Regions from separate parts of the Homo sapiens genome. Here region 2 is linked to region 1. Evidence: promoter capture Hi-C in human tissues and cell types (Jung and others, 2019). All regions are on one chromosome and are shown on one strand. The core of a region is centred on a gene start or on the middle of the fragment in contact, and the rest is flanking DNA. Distances in the headings are between cores, read along the strand shown.

Evidence for each region. Contacts are between HindIII fragments. The study calls those that stand out against the background at their distance.
Region 2: a fragment that was not itself captured here is called in contact with the fragment with the promoter of TNR in region 1 in 2 of the 25 tissues and cell types used here (H1 embryonic stem cells and thymus).

The regions. Positions count from the first base shown.
Region 1 is chr1:175,740,156-175,746,090 of GRCh38, forward strand. It overlaps TNR (tenascin R), which reads right to left and starts at 3,440. Exons shown (of 23, transcript NM_003285.3): 1 at 3,071-3,440. The HindIII fragment of the contact is 10,162 bases long and covers 1-5,046 here.
Region 2 is chr1:176,033,010-176,038,944 of GRCh38, forward strand. All of the region lies in intron 14 of COP1 (COP1 E3 ubiquitin ligase), which reads right to left. Among named protein-coding and RNA genes, the nearest start is that of MIR1843, 67 kb to the left of the region's middle. The HindIII fragment of the contact is 5,547 bases long and covers 1-5,217 here.

The DNA.
Region 1 (5,935 bases), core at 2,190-4,689:
CCCTTGAAAGTCTAGGGTTTACATACCACATCTATTAAGTAATACATTCAGCAATACATTTCTGCTGCAAAATGTAGCAGCATAAGCTATGGTGATACCACATATGCACAAACACAAGTCAGAAAGTGATGGTGTTGGGAGAGGGAGAAATTGGAAAGAAGCACAGGGAACTTTTATACATCTTTTTTGGGGTATACAAGTGTACACAATTGTCAAAACTTAATCTGAATACTTAAGATCAGTGCATTTTATTATATACAAATTATATGTCATTTTTTTCAACAAAAAAAAAGTAATAATGGCGCTTTCCAGGTAAAAGATGGCAACCTATGGCCATGGAGAATAGGGCAGAACAGCTGACCTCCTCCTTCCATCTTTCCCCACCACTGCTCATCTCCCCAGTCCTGGGTGGCAGCCCAGCAGTCTCCCCTACACAGTGAAGGGGGGTTGGGCATGAGAACTTAGTGGCTTTGTCTCCAGATTGCTGGCCAGATATGATGGCCAGGAATGCTGCAGAAGTGGCATTATATGTAAAGTGAGTTTGTATCCAGTTTCCCACTCCTCTTCTAGTGGTTCTATAGGTGGTCAGAGCCCAGCCCTCTCCTGCTCCTTAGTCATCCTTGCCACATTCAGAGCCACAGAGGACTCAATGAAGGTGGTCCCAGAAAAACGTTCTTAGAGAGAACAGTCACCAAACACCCAAAGCCAAGACATCCATGGCAACATGCCCCAGATAGGGTGGCTTCAGCTGGGATTTCTGGGGCATGGTGATGTGACAATCAGGTGCACGACATCAGTTCAGCCTAGATGCCACCAGCCCAGGGTTCTCTCTTTGCAGTAAGCCCAGAGAGCTCTTTACCTGGCTCTTGGCCATCTTCTTAGCTGAGAAGTAAAGGCCAGCAGCACCTTGAGACTTCTGGCTGATTCTCATTCTTCACCAGAGAGAGGCCATTGCTCCACACTGAGTTCCCTAAAAGGCTTTGGCTGCAAGTCTATCCAATGGGGAGCAATCCATTCCTTCTCTCCTGCACATGAGCATTACTGCATTTCCTAGGTGAGGGAATATTAGCAGGCTAGAAGTTCTATTTCTGCTTTCGCTATCCTCTGGCTTCCCACTTTAAGCGTCTGTGTCTCTCCATTTATAAAATGGGTCCAATAATGTCACTGAGCACTTTTTTTTCAGAGAAAATTTAAGGGCATTAATGAGATAATGACTACTAAGTATGGTGACTTCAGTAATAAACTGTGGTTTTGGACAGGGTCCACTGCAAGGGCATAATTTTTTAAAAATCCTCAGTGATGTGTCATGCAGAAATCTATCCACTCACTTGTTCAAACTGGAAGATTTCAAGGACAGGAGGTTTGGAATGTTAAAATACTGAATGAGTCAGTGTTGGTTTCTGATGCTCTGCATTTGTCTATTTCAGTCTTTCTTCCCTACCCTTACAACCTCTGACTTCACTGTCTTCCTGGATGCATTCTACTTCCTGCCACTCTAGGGAGATGCTAAGATTTCTGGATCCAATGCCAAGCATAGTAAAAAAGAAAAGTGGTGCCATTTCACTCAGAACTGTGTCTCTCACCCAGAAGGCTCCCCAGCCAGAGGCAGAGAGTATTTTCTTCATCTTGGAGAAGGGGCCCATTGTGCTGAATTAAAAATAAGACAAAGAATCACCATTCTAGGGTCCATTTGGGGTTGGAAAGAGTGAAACCACCCCACCTTGCCTATGTATCTCCCCTGTCTCAACACACTTGAAGAAAGTGACCAGAACCATAAACAGTTAGGGGTTAAATCAAGGGAAGACTTGCTCCTACAAGAAGCCACATCTCTTTCAAGTTCCCTGTAGGATGCTGGCTCCACGGAGACTTGAATGATTGAAGGAAATCCTCAACACCACTTGTTGAATGACTCAACCAGGTAGGTGTGGCCAGGACTGAATGGGGCAGGGGCAGGCCTATAGTGTCTCCAAGACAATACCAAAGCAGATGCAGGGAATTGACTGAACATACTTCAGAGAGGCAGAAAGCAGGAGAGACAGAGTAATACCTTGCAAAAAGTAGCAGCAGTGAAGAAAGAAGTAATAATGAGCTCCTGTTTGCAGAGCCTCTCAGTGCTGGAGGAGAACAGAGTACCACTTCAAGCCCTCCTGAGTCTGGGACAAGTCTAATTTTGTTTCTGCTCACCCTAGACATATAGAGACAAACCTTTATTCTTAGTTGTTTTTCACTGCCAAATGCCCCAGAAAACAGGGCAGAACAGACTTTGTCTTCTTTCCAACCACCCATAGCCAAAGATGGCATAAAAGTGGAGGGTACCTCCTGCCTCCTTGCAAATGTAATATAACCCACACCAGCCAGTCTCTGCAAAGCTCAAGACACTAGCACTTTCCTACCACCATGAAGTCAGAAGGGACCTCAACCCCCCAAAGCCGCCCCAGCCTGAGCTTCACCTGTTGCACCTGCCCACTTACCATGGGTTCACACCAGAAGAGAAAGTAAAAGGTCAGGTTGGGCTCTCTCCACAGCAAGAGCCCAGAGAATACTAGGAAACTGACATTTTACAAAGCACCTCTTTAAAGCTCTCTCAGAGGTGCGTAACTTTTAACTCTACCTCCACTCCCAACCCCCCAGGCTTCCTTTGCAACTCTTTCCCACCATGGATGGCTTGTCGGGAGAGAGTTAAAGAAGGTGCACGACTAATTCCCCAAACCATCTCGCTTATCTACAGACAAAAAGAACAGCCTTACATGGAGACACGCAGAAACCACCCGCAATTTAGCTCAGACCTCACCTGTCTTATGCAACAGTACACACACACACACACACACACACACACACACCCGCAAGGCCAGAGTCCAATCCCCCTTTAATTCGGTAAACATAGTTTTGCGCCTTTCTTTTCCCTACGCAGAACCCGACTCTACTGGCAGCAGAGAAATAGATGTAACCCTAGTGCCAAATGCCTTGCAGAACACACAGATACACAGGAACCAAAATGCATCTCATAGCTCTCCTTGGTGCTGAAATCACGTTAGCCAGAAAATCAAAGGAGCGAGTGCTCTGGACTTACCCAGGCTGGGGGTGGGCGGCCGGGGAGCGAGAGGAGCTTCCTGGGAAGAAAATTCTTGCTTGCTCAGGCTGGAGCCAGCTGATGCGCTCACCTAGAGAGCCCTCCTCTTTCCCTTCTCTTCCCTTCCTCCTATTCTGGGAGGAAGAGACAAGGCTCCACGAAAGAAATGAAACCCAAGCTGTCAGGGCTACGGGTGGAAGGAGAATGAGGAGGCAACCAAAATAAGATCAAAAAGTCAGGTGGCTTCACTCCACTAGTGGTAATTCCTTGGGTCAGAGAGGACCCCCTTCTCTCACTCTCCCTGGGTCTGCCCGTCTCCTCTGGGTGTTGAGCCAACAGCCTTAGCACAGTCGGTTCCTGCCTCTGACGTGAAAGAGAGGAGGAAGCCTGGGACTGCTTTGCTGTCTCTCTCTCTCTCTCTCTCTCTCTCTCTCTCTCTCTCTCTCTCTCACGCGCTCTCTCTTTTCCCCTCTTGCTGAAATTTCAGCAGCATGATTTTTTTAAGCCTCCGTTTTTTCCATCCCCCTACAAGCAGCCCCCTAGTGGACAGAAAAGAAAAGCATCCTAAATCCTCTTGAACAGTCCAGATTCAGGCACAGAAATACTCCCCGCACCCAACTCTTGGAGCTGCCTCTGCATAGGCAGGGTCCTGAAGAAGATAGAGGCTTCCCTCTGACCAACCCAGATAAGAAGAGAAAGGGAGAGGATGGAAGCTTTTGCAGATCCTTTGCCCATGATTGAAGGAGAAATCCAGGGTGGAATGGGTTGGGATAGAATGTTTTGGAATAAGGTCAGTTGTGGGGTTCTCAAGTGGTTTGAGGTCCGGGCTCAGCAGAAGGAACCCTCCAAAAAGTCAGCGTCTGCAGCCAGGTGAAGTATGTGTATACGTAGCACAACCCAGGCATGGGAATGCCTAAAGAGGCAGAGGATACAGGGAGCTGGCCCTTCATCCAACTCCACAATATAGCTTTTTTGTAAAGCTAGTAAGAAAAATATCTGAAAAGATATGGCCTGAGATCATCTCAGAAGTAGAGACAGAAGTGACCTTGATGCACATTTATGGAGAACCTTGGCAGAGAAGGGGCATCAAGGGGTCACTGCTCATAGGCTCATAAGGGATATCTAACATTCTCTTTTAAATGTACAGCCACACAGCCTCCCGGAAAGAGTCCTAATACTTACATCTAAAAATCTGAGTCCTGGTTTCAGACTGCCACTTGCTTACTGGACATTTTGCTTCTCTATGGCTCAATTTTACTGTTTGTAAAATGTGGATAATGCTGCCCCCTCCCTACTGAATAGGAATGCTAAGGGACTGGAATGATATAGAAACATAGAACCTCAGGATTGGCAGGGAATTTAAAGGTAATCTTATACAAACACTCTTCTTATATTTGATTCACTCCTGGCAAATAACAATAGCTAACATTTATAGAGTGTTTATACCAGGTGCTAGGCACTGTTATAAGCCCTTACATGTATTAGCTCATTTAAGCCATACAATAACTCTATAATGCAGAGGCTATTATTGCTACTCTATAGACTGGGAACTGAGTAACAGAGGAATGAAATAACTTTCCAAAGATCACACAACTAGTGAGTGTCAGGGATGGTAATGGAACCTGAGCCATCTGACCCTGGAGCTTCCTCATTGAATTACCATGTTCTATAAATGTACACTTCAGGAGTGACATTTGAAGTAAATAGAAGATAGCACCACAGTTATCATTGCTTTTATTTATGACAAAGTGCCTAGATTGTTACAATAAATTTATATGTGGCTGAGTTTTTAAAATAAAATATTTACCACTAGGGGTGCCAAACAAACTGTGGAAATTGCTATTACCGATGAGAATCTCCTAAGAAAATTAATTCTCTTGGTGATTTGGGTAGTTTCACATATACAAAACTGGCTTTAAATCTTATAAAATTGGAAACTATTGGGTTTTAACATCAGTTCAGAAGACACATCACTCAATTTCTGTACCAAAAGCAAATTATTGCCCACTGCCTAACACAGTGCAAGAACGGAGCCAGCAATTTGAAGAGCTGAAACGTTGTAATGCATTCAGGTAATAAACGCTCAGTGAGAAATTGACATTTTCTTCAGAATCTCAGAATTATGAATTCCTTAGCTGAGGTGGCTTACTTTTTCTGGCTTTTTTTTTTTTTTTGGGTGAAAAGTGGATGAAGTAGGACAAAGATGGTAGGTGACAATTAACAAATCATGGTCCCTGTCCTCAACAGAGTTACCAGTTCCTCAAAGGGGGAAAGAAAGAGCAAGACACAAATGATTACAATTCAAGGACTAAGTGCCAAGAATTTGGGCAGTGAGCACATGGAAAACACAACTAACTTGATCTTTGAGGGCTAGGGGAATTCCTAAGGTATGCAGCATCTAAGCTGAGGCCTGAATAATCAGAAGTCTTCCCAGCAAAAAGTGGGTGAGAGAATTAAGCTGAAGGCATAGCATGTGCAAACTCATGGAGGAGGGAAAGGGGAAAGAGCATAGTAGGAAACTTTCAAAGAAAGTATTACCCTTCCACTGACAAATGGGGAATCTGAGGCTCATAAAAGTTAAGTGGCTTGCTCAAGTTCACACATCTAATAAGTATAGAACCCAAATCAAATGCACATCTATTTGACTCTAAAGTCATCCCCTTTGTGAAGCATGATGATATCTTCTCTCATCACTTAGAAGTGCCCACACCATTTAATAGAGTGTTTCAATAACATAGAAGCTAACATAACCGAGTGAGGGTGTAGCATCTACCAGGAAGCTGGAAGTATGATCTGTTACTATTAGATGAGAAACCCATAAAAAAGGCACTAGTCAGTTCAAAAAAAGGGGAAATTTAGGGTGCT
Region 2 (5,935 bases), core at 1,194-3,693, 290 kb after region 1:
TGAAAAACTGGAAGCATTACAATCAGCATGAGTTTCACTAACTGATTTCTAAAATCTACCAAGACTTCACAGTTGTCACTTGTGCATTAACTTATGCAACTAAGAAAATTTGGAATGAAGGGCCAGGTGCGGTGGCTCATGCCTGTAATCCCAGCACCTTGGGAGGCCGAGGTGGGTGGATCACTTAAGATCAGGAGTTGGAGACCAGCCTGACCAACATGGTGAAATCCCATCTCTATTTAAAAAAATACAAAATTAGCCAGCTGTCGGGGCGAGGGTGGGGGGAACATGCCTGTAACCCCAGCTACTTGGGAGGCTGAGGCAGGAGAACTGCTTGAACCCGGGTGGTGGAGGCTGCAGTGAGCTGAGATCGTGCCATTGCACTCCAGCCTGGGCAACAAGAGCAAAACTCTGTCTCAAAATAATAATAATAATAATATTAAGGAAATCTGGAATGAAGAAGAACCTGTAACTTCTGCTATCATACAGTCTAAATTCTTCAAACTCACATTTAAAGAAAAATACCTTTAAAGAATGTGTTTAATTCAAAGGCAAGGTTATTTATTGGAAACAATTCTCAGGTTACATATTTAAAAAGGAAAATATATTTCTCCAAAAGAACCTTTAAAATGACTCATAAAATTCCTTTCTGATTAGCTGCCACATAATGATGGTTCTTTAACATGTAATTACGTGCATATATACTTGGAACTAAATTATTTTAAAAATATACAGCATATGTAGGAAAAATATTCATATGAACTCAGTTTTTATTTAAGCAATGAAAAAAATAGCTGTTTAAAAAATTCCTCAGTTAAACATTTACTAAATACAAAATATAGAAAATAAGCAAAATATATTTGTATAAAATAAGTGATTTAAAATATTCTCTAACTATAAAGTTATCACAAAGGCAATATTTTATATGATCGCCAAACAGACAAGAGTAATAAATACATTTAAGTAACACTAAATAATACTCTTAAGATGGGCTTAAAAGCATTTGAGACTTTTACTGCCAAGCTGAGAGAGTAAGCCAATCTCTCTCACTTTGAGTTTACTCTGGACAATATCCAAAAAACAAAAGCAACTATATGAGGAAACTGAAAAAGTAAACAAAAACAGTCATTTCCAGGACAGAATTCTAAACTTAAATGAAATTCGGGATGAAGAGTACCATTTTTCCCCCTCTCTTCTCCCTTGGCAAGCTAAAGTCAGCACCTCAAGCAACAAACACTAAGTAAAATTGTTGTGTTTATTAATGACTTCAGCAAACCAGGGATTGGGAGTAATTTTTTCCTTTTTACTCTTTTTCTCCTCCAACTTTTCCCCATGGGTGGGCTTCAGTCACAGAGCTACAGCAGTATGAGAAGCTAATACTCAGAGTAAAACTCTGTGTATATAAAAAGGAGCATCTGTGATATAACGAATATGAAAAAGGCGAATCCCCATTATATTTTTCTTATTTATTCTCTTGCTTCTTTGCCCTTGTGGTGGGCCCTACTAACAGAATTCAGCAGTAGACTGGGCACTAAAGTCTCCTAAAATGAAACAACCCAACCTTCTTGACAAAGTATCAGTAAAAGGGGGCCCTGGGAGATAAAGAGTCGGGGAGAAACCTGGAAAGAAAGTAATGGAGAAGGAGATTCTACAGTTCTGTGCATTCACTGGCACAGTCACTTCTGAGCTGTGTATGTGCAAGATGGACACAAAGCAGAGCAGCAAATGCTTTGCGCACTGAACTACAGTTGAAAAGATGACCCAAGTCCTAAACTAAGCTCTAACTGGCATGGGCATTAGGCAGACTCAAAGTACCACAGCAAAAGCTCTGAGAAATGAACTGATTGTTTCCTTTGACAAGGCAACAATCACCTAGGGAAAGCAAGACAGAACTTACAGTCTAAATCTAAGCCAACTGATCACCTACTAAGAAATGAAGAAACAAACAAAAAACCAACATTTCCCACACAATTTAAACAGGACCCAACATCTTACAATATAATATTCAAAATGGCTAAGAGACAACCCCAAAATTATTCAACATACAAAAACCCAAGAAAATGTGAAGAATTTTCAAAGGAAAACACAATTAACAAAGGTCAGTCCTAAGGTTTAGATGTTGGATCCCAAGACATTAAATGAAACAGATTTTAAAGCAACTATTGTAATTATACTCCATGGGGTAAAAATAAACAAACTTAAAATTAATGGAAAGATAGAAGTACTCAGAGAATATATAGAAACTATTTTTTTTTTAAAAAGAATCAAATGAAAATTTTTGCAAAATGGAGATGACAGATGAAGGAATCATGAGCTAGAAGACAGAACAATATAAATTACCCAACCTGAAGAGAAAAAAATATTGACAAGAAAAAGAATATGAGGTCTATGAGACAGAACGAAAGGGTCTAATACACTAACATAATTAAAATCCCAGAGGAGAGGAAAAAGAGATTACTAGCAGTAGTTTGATAAGTATGTGACAAAGTAGTTTTCAGAGGAATATTGACAGGGATAGTGATATTATATATTAACAAATGATTCAGTCCACCAAGACATAACAATCCCAAATACATTTATGCCCTTAACAATAGTTTCAAAATATATCAGGTAAAAACACACTTAACACAAAAAAGGTAACTAAACAGAGAAATAAAATCAGACTTTAACATTTCTGTCTCATAATCAATAAAACGAGACCAAAAAAAAAAAAAAAAAAAAAACGCAAGCATACAGAAAATCAGAAATACAGTAGCAACAACTTTGATCTGACACTTACAGAACACTCACCAAACAGCATTTATAGTACAGTTTCTTTTCAATGCATTTGAAATATTTATCAAGGTAGTTCATATTCTGGACCATAAAACAAATAACAAATTAAAAAAGTTAACACTATGTAAAATATATCCTTTAACCATAAGAGGATTAAGTTATAAATCAGCAACAGAATGATTTCTGAAAATTTTAAGGAAATTTAAATATACTTTAAACAATCCATAGATGAACAAGAGAATAACAAGAGAAATCAAACAGAATTTTAAACAGAATGGAAAAGCAAATATACTAGTCATGAAAATAATATAATAGCAAATATAATAGTAAATAGTCATGAAAACTTGGTTTCAAATTTGTTTCAAAATTTGCTAAAGTAGTGCTTAATGGGAAATGTATATAACAAAAAATGTTCAGATTAAAAAGACAGAAGTATCAAATGACATAAACTTCAATCTTCAAAAAACTAGAAAGGGGAGGAAATTAAACCCAAAGCAAGAAGAAAAATGGGCAGAAATCTATGAAATTAAAAATAGAAAATTACAGAAAAATCAACAAAACCAAAAGTTGAGCATTTGAAAAGATTAAGAACCTAATGCCAAGCTGACCTAAATTAATAAACAATAAATAAACGAGAGGACACAAAATACCAATTATCAGGAATAAAAGACAGAAGATGACTTCATCACAGCTTCTCAGAGGTAATGAAAAAAACAAAAAAACAAAAAAAAAAAAAAAAAAAGCATGGCTACAAACCCTAGAGATATGAGTATATTACAAATATAGACAGTCCCCAATTTAAATAGCTCAACTTATGATTTTTTGACTTTACAATGGTGAGAATGCAATGTGCATTCAGTAGGAACCATACTTCCAATTTTGAATTTTGATATTTCACCAGGCTAGTGATATGTGGTATGATATTCTTACCTGTATTATTCAACATTGTATTGTAAAAGTCTTTGTGTTATTTTGCTTAATTGTAGGCCAATGTAAATATTCTGAGCACATTTAAGGTAGGTTAGGCTAAGCTACGATTAGAAGTATTAAATGCATTTTCAATTTATGATGGACTTATTGGGACTGTAATCCCATTGTAAGTGGAGGAGCATTTTATGGACTTTGATGCCCATAAATCTTGTAACAAATAAAATGTATCGATTCCCTGAAGGAAATGAACTGTCAAAAATTACACTCAAGAAGAGACAGATAAGTTTATTAGTTCGAAATCTACTAAGGAAATTAAATTCTTAGTTAAAACCTTCAAACAAAGAAAACTACACGCCCAGAAAGCTTCACTGACAAATTCTACCAAACATTTAAGAACAAAAGAATAGGCCAGGCGCAGTGGCTCAAGCCTGTAATCCCAGCACTTTGGGAGGCCGAGGCAGGCGGATCACGAGGTCAGGAGATGGAGACCGTCCTGGCTAACACAGTGAAACCCCGTCTCTACTAAAAATACAAAAACAAAAATTAGCCAGGCATGGTGGCGGGTGCCCGTAGTCCCAGCTACTCGGGATGCTGAGGCAGGAGAATGGCATGAACCTGGGAGGTGGAGCTTGCAGTGAGCCGAGATCATGCCACTTCACTCCAGCCTGGGCGACAGAGCAAGACTCCGTCTCAAAAAAAAAAAGTATAAGAAAAAAAAAAACACATAGCACATAGAAGAGGAAAATCATTTTATGAGGCCAGCATTACCCTGATATCAAAGTCACGAAAAATTACAAAAACAGAAAAAAAACAACAAAAAAATTCACCCTCTGAAAAAAACAAACAAACAAAAAAACCTCAAGTCAAATCTAGAAATACAGAAAAAGAATAATACATTCATGTTTATCCTGGGAATGTATGGCTAATTCAAGTTTTGAAAGTCAATGACTATAATTCATAATATTAATAAAGAGAAACTACATGATGATACGTGCATAAAAAGTATTTAACAAAATTCAATATCCATCATGATAAAAATTCTCAGCAAACAAGGGAATGGAAAAGAACGTCTTTAAATTGACACAGGTGCCTACTAAAAGCCTAATTTAGTCAGTATATTAAGTGATGAAAAGCTGCAAGATTTCCCCCTAACATCAGGAACAAAGCAAGAAAGGTTCACTGTTGTCATTCCTATTTACCATTATACTGAAGTCCTTGCCAGTACAAAAAAGCAAGGCAGGAACGGGAAAGAAAGGCATACAGTTGAAAATGAAAAAGTATTTATGTTTCTATTTGCAGATGACGTAATTGGCTATGTAGAAAATCCCAAGGAATCTGAAAAAGTAATCTATACCTACAGTGACTTTAGCAAGTACATTGGCACAATGTTTATATTTTAAATATCAACTGTATTTCTATAAACTAGTAAGAATGAAATTTTTAAAAATACCATTTTCATTAGCACCAAAAAATAAAATACCTGCGAAACTTGCATGCTGAAAATGACAAAACTATGAGAAAAGAAATCATAAAAGCCCTACATATGGAGAGATAAACCATGTTCATGGACTAGAAGACTCAGTATATTAAGATTTTAATTTTTCCCAAATTGATCTATAGATTGAATACAATGGCAATCAAAATCTCAGCAGGATTTTATGTAGGTACTAGCAACTTGATTCTAAAATGTATATGAAAAGGCAAAGGAAATAGAAGAGTTAAAAATCATTTTCAAAAACAAGGATGAAGGACTTACTACTTGATTTCAGACTTATTACAAGCTACAAATCAAGACAACATGGTACAAGTAAAAGAAGAGATAGGGCTGGGCATGGTGGCTCATGCCTGTAATCCCAGCACTTTGGGAGGCCAAGGCGGGCAGATCACAAGGTCAAGAGTTCGAGACCAGCCTGACCAATATGGTGAAATGCCATCTCTACTAAAAATACAAAAATCAGCCACGTGTGGTGGCGTGCGCCTGTAATCCCAGCTACTCAGGAGGCTGAGGCAGGAGAATCGCTTGAACCCGGGAGGCGGAGGTTGTGGTGAGCCAAGATCATATCATTGCACTCCAGCCTGAGCAACAGAGCTAGACTCCATCTCAAAAAAAAAAAAAAGAAAAGAAAAAGATAGATACACAGATCAATGCAGAGTCTAAAAACAGGCCCATACACATCCCTTTATCAGAAATGGACAGATCCAACAATCAGAAAATGAGCAATGAAACAGC